3 separate regions of the Homo sapiens genome follow, and all the other regions are linked to region 2. Evidence: promoter capture Hi-C in human tissues and cell types (Jung and others, 2019). All regions are on one chromosome and are shown on one strand. The core of a region is centred on a gene start or on the middle of the fragment in contact, and the rest is flanking DNA. Distances in the headings are between cores, read along the strand shown.

What was found. The method cuts DNA at HindIII sites, captures the fragments that hold promoters and counts their contacts. A contact is called where the count stands out against the background at its distance.
Region 1: a fragment that was not itself captured here is called in contact with the fragment with the promoter of MBD1 in region 2 in 1 of the 25 tissues and cell types used here (dorsolateral prefrontal cortex).
Region 3: a fragment that was not itself captured here is called in contact with the fragment with the promoter of MBD1 in region 2 in 1 of the 25 tissues and cell types used here (spleen).

Annotation. Positions count from the first base shown.
Region 1 is chr18:49,229,975-49,232,674 of GRCh38, reverse strand. All of the region lies in intron 13 of DYM (dymeclin), which reads left to right. Among named protein-coding and RNA genes, the nearest start is that of MIR4744, 180 kb to the right of the region's middle. The HindIII fragment of the contact is 7,681 bases long and covers 1-2,700 here.
Region 2 is chr18:50,280,185-50,282,884 of GRCh38, reverse strand. It overlaps MBD1 (methyl-CpG binding domain protein 1), which reads left to right and starts at 1,362. Exons shown (of 17, transcript NM_015846.4): 1 at 1,362-1,522. CXXC1 (CXXC finger protein 1) reads left to right here. Exons shown (of 15, transcript NM_014593.4): 14 at 1-31; 15 at 146-538. The coding sequence ends at 292. RefSeq lists enhancers at 123-703, 704-1,284 and silencers at 1,430-1,539, 1,550-1,629. The HindIII fragment of the contact is 21,891 bases long and covers 1-2,700 here.
Region 3 is chr18:48,529,750-48,532,449 of GRCh38, reverse strand. No RefSeq gene overlaps it. Among named protein-coding and RNA genes, the nearest start is that of CTIF, 7.9 kb to the left of the region's middle. The HindIII fragment of the contact is 6,431 bases long and covers 1-2,700 here.

The DNA.
Region 1 (2,700 bases), core at 168-2,667, 1.1 Mb after region 2:
ATCTCGCCACTGCACTCCATCCTGGGCGACAGAGCAAGTCTGTTTCCAAAAAAAAAAAAAAAAAAAAAAAAGAGGCCGGGCACAGTGGCTCACGCCTGTAATCCCAGCACTTTGGAGGCCGAGGCGAGCAGATCACGAGGTCAGGAGATTGAAACCATCCTGGCTAACACGGTGAAACCCCATCTCTACTAAAAATACAAAAAATTAGCCAGGTGTGGTGGTGGGTGCCTGTAGTCCTAGCTACTCGGGAGGCTGAGGCAGGAGAATGGCATGAACCCACGTGGATCTTGCAGTGAGCCGAGATCGCGCCACTGCACTCCAGCCTGGGTGACAGAGTGAGACCCCTTCTCAAAAAGAAAAAAAAAAAAGAAAAAATCAAAAAAGAAGAAATTCTGTTTCAATCAAGTAGAATTTCCGTATGGCCAGCTAATACAGAAAGTGATAAATTGTGCAAAGTATATGAATATGGAAAGTGGGGGGAGCAAATAGTTCCAAACTAGGATAAAGCAGAATACTTCATAACGTACCTGTCTTTCAAACAAGATCTTATCGGATGAATAGTATTTCAGTAGGTAAAAGGCAGGGGAACATGAAAATCACATGTGTAATTTAGAAACATCAACAGATGGCAAGAAAAAGAATTTTGGAAGGTATATATAACTGAATATTATTATAAAGGAATTACATGTTTTAAAATTTTTTATCTATGAATACTAAGTTTTCTTGTCTCCAACCTGTGTTCCTTTTCTTGCCTGCAGAAGTAAAATCAGATACAGACGTTGCAGTTTTAAGAGTCATGTTGATGTGACCCTCTTCAAGGCTAGTTAGTACTTACAGTTTGTATTTAGAGGAATCTTTGACTAAGATTCCTCTGGTGACTTTTTAGCTCCAGATGTGCTAGTACACTACGAAGCATTGTAACAGCTGTTTATTTCATTAGAGTTGGATCTAGACTGCCACTACCTCAGAGGAACCAGATACAAGTAGATCCACTCCACTTTATTTGACAAAGGAAACATGCTGATCCTAATAACCAAAAGGAATGTGGCAACTCGTTCATGTATTTCAGTATCTTTCACATAGGACAGTGTAACTGTGACCTGCATTTTCACTTGGGAAAGAGTCCTGGGAAAGACCTAAGAGAACTTAAGCTGTTCAGCAGTGGCTGCATACCTTTGGAGGCACCATCAGAGAGATGGATGGAAAATTGGGTAAAGGGAGGTCTACCCCCAAATCCAAGATTCTGTGATTCTGATACCTTTTACTTTAAAGCAATCATTTTCAGGTTCTGTGTTTTGTTCTCGTACTCTAGATCTCGTGCTTTCTTTGCTGGTGTCAACATGAGCAGCCACCAGCTGCTCTGGGATACCCACTCTACTCCTCCCAGAGCAGCTCCCCTCTGCTTTGATCTGTTTACACGTTGCCATTTCACATCAGCTTTCATTGGAAGAAAGGGTTCCATTGCTTTAAATATATGCATACATAAGCGCATACATATATGAATAAATAAGTTGAAAATTAGAAAACCCTTTTTAAAGGATGGAGTAATGAGGTTGATCTTAAGGTTCTTTGAACTTCTCAAAAGGCAGTGTAGTAGTCTAAGCTAATATATCTATCTAAAAGATGAATATTGTGCATTAGAAAAATAGTATTCTTTTAGTGACATTCATGAAGTCATTTTTTAAATAAATAATGGACCCATTTGATTATTTAAGCTCTATGTGCATTTTAAAGTATATTCATCGTGTAGAAATACTCTTTTTTGCCTTTTACTTATTTCTACATATAGGTTATTGAGTTTTTCTGCATGGTTCTGTATCTCTTTTGTTCTCTGCCCTCTGCAGAATTTTATCTGATAGTAGATAGAATGTGGATTCTTAAGGAGAAAATCTGTTTTATTAATTATAAGGCGTATGTCTCAGACTACCAAACCAAGTATACTGAGTGTTTTGAATTAAATATTTAGTGCTTCATTGACTATTTCCTCTGACTTCCATTAAGACCTTGAGAAATAACTCTTCTCTAATAAGCCTTTTGTTTGTTTGGGGCCAATATACAGATTGATGTGGAATGAACCATTGCTGTAGTATTTAGGGTGTGGTAAGCTTTTCTCAGGAACTTATCTCATTTCAGTATAGCTCATTTTTGGTAGGATATTAACAAGTCTCTGTCATGGCAGGAAACACTTGGTTTTGTTCCCAGATGTCTGATAGTAGTTCTTTTTTGAGGTAGTAAGATTTTTTTGGATGCTAGCATGGGAAAGACATGTGAAAAGTGTAGAGAGATTATAAGGGGCTTGATATCAAAGGTTTTTAAAGACAAATGGTCTGTGCTTGAACAGGACATTAGAATTGAGCTTAAAATCTATAACCTAATTTTCTTCTTCCCTTGAATACAGTTGGTATATTCGACCAGCATAGGCTACTGCTTCACCTTAGTGACTGTTGTTTTTAATTTGTTAGGACACTAAAAAATGTATTACATGTAGAAAATTTCCCTTTTAGTAAATAGTTCTTTGAGTTGACAAACACATATAGTCATGTATTTACCACCATAGTGAAGATAATATGTTCATCTCCCTAAAGATTCCGCTGTGCTGCTCTGTAGTCAAACCATTCTTACTACCCAAGCCCCCTTCTGTTATTTAGTTTTCCTTTGCCACTTTGTCATAAATCTTATCATATGGTATTTAGTCTTTTG
Region 2 (2,700 bases), core at 113-2,612:
TGCGGAAGTGGACTTGGAGCGCGTGCGTGTGGTAGGTTTCTGTGCGGTTTTGGTGCTGCATGTGGTAGGTTTCCATGTCGGACGTGGCCGGGGCAGGCGGGGCTGCAGGTGTTCCTGCTTAGGACTCCTGCCGCTCCCTTGGCAGTGGTACAAGCTGGACGAGCTGTTTGAGCAGGAGCGCAATGTGCGCACAGCCATGACAAACCGCGCGGGATTGCTGGCCCTGATGCTGCACCAGACGATCCAGCACGATCCCCTCACTACCGACCTGCGCTCCAGTGCCGACCGCTGAGCCTCCTGGCCCGGACCCCTTACACCCTGCATTCCAGATGGGGGAGCCGCCCGGTGCCCGTGTGTCCGTTCCTCCACTCATCTGTTTCTCCGGTTCTCCCTGTGCCCATCCACCGGTTGACCGCCCATCTGCCTTTATCAGAGGGACTGTCCCCGTCGACATGTTCAGTGCCTGGTGGGGCTGCGGAGTCCACTCATCCTTGCCTCCTCTCCCTGGGTTTTGTTAATAAAATTTTGAAGAAACCAAGGAAGCTGTCTCCACATTGCTGCGGTTGCAACTGTTCCAGACTTCTGGATAAGATGGGGGGCGCCTGCACCCCGCGAGAGCCCAGGGACCCACATTCCCAGCCTCCCACGGGCAGAGGGTCTACGCAGCGCGCCTTCAGTGTGGTGACACCGCCCATGCATGCTCCTGTCTCCCACCCAGAGCTGTCGTCCGCTGTGGACGCCAGGCCCCGCCTTTTCCCCACAAGCCCCACGTTGGGGATCCGCCTCCTGCAGGGGCGCGCCCTCCCGCGTGCCTCAGTTTACCTGCGGTGTGGCACCGCCCCTTTCCCCGCCCCGCGCGCTCCCACAGCTGTTCGGCGGGGAGGAGGGAGCGGGACACGACCCCCCCTGGGGTTGATGTTCGGAGGGACCCACGAACACAGGATAGACCCCAGCGAGAGGTGGGAGAGGAGAGCGCCGGCAGGGCCAGGGAGTGCGCAGGCGCGAAGCAGCTTCCTTGCCGCGTTCGGTATCGGCTGTGGAGACCGCGGGAGGGAAGGGAGGGCGCAGGCGCAAGCCCTCCCCGACCGCTTCCCTTCAGGTTGAGGCTGGAAAGCGCATGCGCCAGCTAGATGGGCAGCGAGGAGAGCCGCAACTGCCAGTCCCTCGAAGGGGTTAGCTGTCGTTGAACGTCAGCACGCAGATGCAACTGGCTCTCGGCAGGGGGGCGCGCGCACCGCTGCGGAGCGCCGGCCCGTAGGCGCGGGAGCCTCCCTATTAAGGGCACGCGACATCGAGGCAATAGTGCGCAGGTGCTTAGCCAGAGGCGGAGCCCGAGAGGCAGGCAGCGGACTTCCGGTTCCGGGAGCAACGAACAGCCGCGGAGGCGACAGCTACCGCTTCAGAGGAGGCGGCCGCGGAGGAGGAGGAAGGGGAGGAGGGCGAGGCGGGAGGTGCAGGAGGGACCCTCGCCATGGGTCCACGGGCCTAGAGTGGCGGAAGATACCGGCCTGGTGCCAAACTGGTGAGACAGCCTTGGGGCTGGACGTGGAGAGCGCTCAGGCGGAGGATGGGAAGGAATTGTGGCTCAGAACGCTGACGGGGAGGAATGAAGGGCCCTCAGGCCGATAAGGGGGAGGAATGGCGGCGTCGGAATACTGACGAGGAGAAATGGGGGGATTTAGGCTGAGGACGGGAAGGAATGCAGCTCTGAACTCTGACAGGTAGGAGTGTCGGGATCCTGGGACGAGGACGGAGAGGAATGGTGGAGATCAGAACGCTAAAGGGAGACATCGGGGCATCTGAAGTTGAGAGAGAAATGGGGGTTCAGAACTCTGAGAGGGAGAAATGAGGGGCCCTCAGGCTGATGACAGGAGAAATAGAGGCTTTGGAATGCTGAAAGGGAGGAATAGGAGGCCCCATATAGAGGACGAGGAGCAGTAGGGGATCAGAATGGTGACAGTTAGGGATGGCATGATCCCGGGACAAGAACAGAGAGAATGGAGGAGGGTTCGGAATGCTGAGGGGAGAAATTAGGGTCTCTCTGGATGATAAGGGAGGAATGGAGGATGAGAACAGTAAGGAGGAGAAGTGGGGAACTTTTTGGCTGTAGAGGAAGGTTTGGGAGCTCAGACTAGGGAGAAATTGTGGGTGAGAACATTGAAGGAGAAGAAAAATAAGGGGGGAGGTCTTGGGCTGAGGAAGGGGAGGCATGGGAGGCTTCCAGTGTGAGGAATGGAAAAGATGAGGGGCTGTTCAGGCTATGGGTTGGAGCAGTTGTGTCTCGCAGAGGAAGTCGAGGTTGTAACACTGAGGTAGCAGGATAAGAGGACATCAGGCAGAGAAGGAATGGAGTGGTTAAAACACTGAAGGAGGGAAATTAGGAACTCCTGGGTCAAGGAAGGGGGGAATGAGAGACTACTGAAGTCAAGTAGTGAGGGCAAGAGAAATGGGGCCCTTTGGGGCTGAGGATGGGGACTATGGGGGTCTTGGGGTGATAAAATAGAGGGATAGAGGCCCTTAGGTCAGTGACAGGGAGGAATGAGGGGGAAGGATGAAAAGTTTCTGGATTGGCAGTGAGGAGAAATGATGGGTTGTCAGTCTGAGGATAGAGAGGAGTAGGGGATTAGGACACTGAGAATAAGAAACAGGGATCCTTGGGTTGAGGAATGATGATATCCTAGGCCCAGAATAGGAAAGAAT
Region 3 (2,700 bases), core at 4-2,503, 1.8 Mb after region 2:
CACACAAAAGTGGGCATTAATTTAGGCTTACAGAACCTCACAGTTTAGTTCAGATGACATACACATTTTAAACAGAAATGGCAGTAAAATATTAAAATCCAAGGTGTGCCATATGTGTAATATAGACAGAGTGATTGTTCAGGGAAAAGGCAACCCTTGTAAGCTAGAGCAGCAGAGAGACATTCAAGGGAGAAGTGGAACCGAGCCAGGCATGAGTGTGATAGGATGGGACCAGGGCTGGAAAGGGGGCTTTCCCAGTGATAGGCAGGCAGGAGCTTAGAAGTGGGAACTCACATCGGGGAGGGGCTGAGCAATGGGGAGGAGGAGGCACGAAGTCCAGAAAGTTAGTTGTGTGTCATTGGTTCAAGACTGGACTCAGGAGGCAGACACCAGGATTTGCATCCTGCCTTCCCCTTTTATCACCACTTGACCTTGGGCAACTCTAAGCTTCCATTTCCTCTACAAAAGAGAGAAATAATAGAACATATCTCAGTAAGTCATTATAAGGCTTAAAGGAGATGATGTATACAAGGCATTTCACACATAGTAAGGACTTATAGTAACACCAGGTTTTATTTTTTGGTTATTATTGTTATTATTTTTGCTGTTACCCAAGTGATAGGCTGTGTGGGACCAGGAACAAAAGTTTTGACCAATTAGGACTTTATTCTATGACTCAAGAGGGTGAGATTAGATTTTGTTTTTCAGTTATAATGCGGGTAGACAGTAGAGTATGGCCCAGACTGTGGGAGCCACTCCCAGCCTGACCCAGACTGTGAGATCCAACACTGGCTTGTGCCCTAATCCCAGTAATCCTCATCCTCATCTTCAGCAGGGCCTCTGAGGGTTCAGTAGAACTTGCAGAATCAGGATCTGTTCTCATGGTTCTTCATGAGCTGTCATTCTGTCCCTTTCTCACATGCAGATCCACTACCCTCACCCCACCTCTTTTTCCGTTTTGGCAAAATTATCAGATTTGTTTATACTCCACTCTTTCCAGAAATGACTCAAGACAGCTTTTTAAATTCTAAAATGTACCTACTAATATATAAAAATAGAAATTTACACAAAAGACACTTTGTAAGATGGTTATCCCTTTTACAAAAGAAGTAGCCATCATTTCTTTAAGTAGCAGCACGTCTGGTACATGCAATGTCAGACCTGATAGACCAAATTTTGCCTCATCAGCAGCTTTCTGGAATGTGTCTTCAGTATCAGTGTGGTTCACAGCATTACTCCCCATTATCACCTTCACAGGAGTCAGCTGATTTTCAGCAAGTCTGGGACTTGAACAAAGGCAAAGGGTGTGTGAAGCCTTTGAATTTATTTTGTGCAGAGCTAGGTGATTGAATGGGATCTGCTCTAGAAAGCACCAAGCTGCCACTTGGTCAGGGAACCCTGCTTGGGAGAGGTGGCAGAGGAGGTTTTCAGAAAAACAAGGGAGGATGCCTATTAGCTTATGTGGACTGGGAGACCACCCAGGGGAAGGGAGCAGTGTAGGGGAAATGCCGGGCTGCTGTGCTCCCTGTGGGGCAGTGGCAGAGGTGGCAAGCCAGCTTGGGACCTCAGATTGCGCCACAGAAGAGAGGAGAGCTGCCTGGTGACAGTTCACCTGTCCTACCCCTAGAAGAAAATTTTGGCTTGACACAGAGATAAGATGTGAAACATTCTCTCTTTGCTATATCCATATATTTCAGGACTTAGCAATCATGCCCTATGCTATAGTGAATATGTCCCAATGCATTATTTAACACATTTCTTTTTAACAAAAAGCATGTGTTGGGAACTTAATCCCTAATGCAACAGCGTTGGGGGGCAGGGCCTACTAGGAGGTGTTTAGGTCATGATGGCTCCACCCCATAATGGATTAATGCTGATTATGAAAGGGCTTCAGTCTGTGAGTTTGATCTCTTGCTCATGTGTGCTGTCTTGTCCTTCCACCTTCCACTATGGGATGACACAGCAAGAAGGTCCTTGCAAGATGTGGGCCCCTATACCTTAGACTTTCAGCCTCCAGAAAGGTAAGAAATACATATCTTCTCTTTATAAATTACCCAGTCTCAGGTATTCTGTTATAGAAGCACAAAATGGACTAAGACAACCTTTCAGTGGGCATGTTGCTGTGGCAACCTTAAAGTCACTGGAGGGCATCTATAATTGGCAGAAAATGGTATGAATTTAGTTACAGGTTTGTTTTTTTTTTTTCTGGGAGGAGTTTTTTAGTCTTAGGCTACTTAAAGTACTCACATGTGATCTTTTTGCCTGAGCAGACTAATAATCACCTCGCAATTTAATTACTAAGCCAGTACCAGTGAACTCTTCTCCTATCAATTGAGTTGTAATTTTTGAATACCAGCTTCTTGGACAGGGCCCATCTCTGGAAGCTGTGGTTACCCAGACACAAATCACAACCAGTGTTATGCTTTGTGAAACCAGTCGACTGTGGAGTCAGCTGGAGGGATCATTGACAAATGCAAGCATGTTCTGAGTGGCTCATCTGTCAGCTATGACAGGCATTCAGTTCTGCTAAAGAGCATTCTGGGTTGGCCACACTGTCACTTCTCCATTCCCTACAATCTTCTACCACTGGATGTGTTCCCATTTCCTAGGTATAGAAAACTCCTAATCATGGTGGTTATTTTATAATTTTAAAATAGTAAAAATCTTTTTATTAAAAAAAATGGTAAAATACACATGACA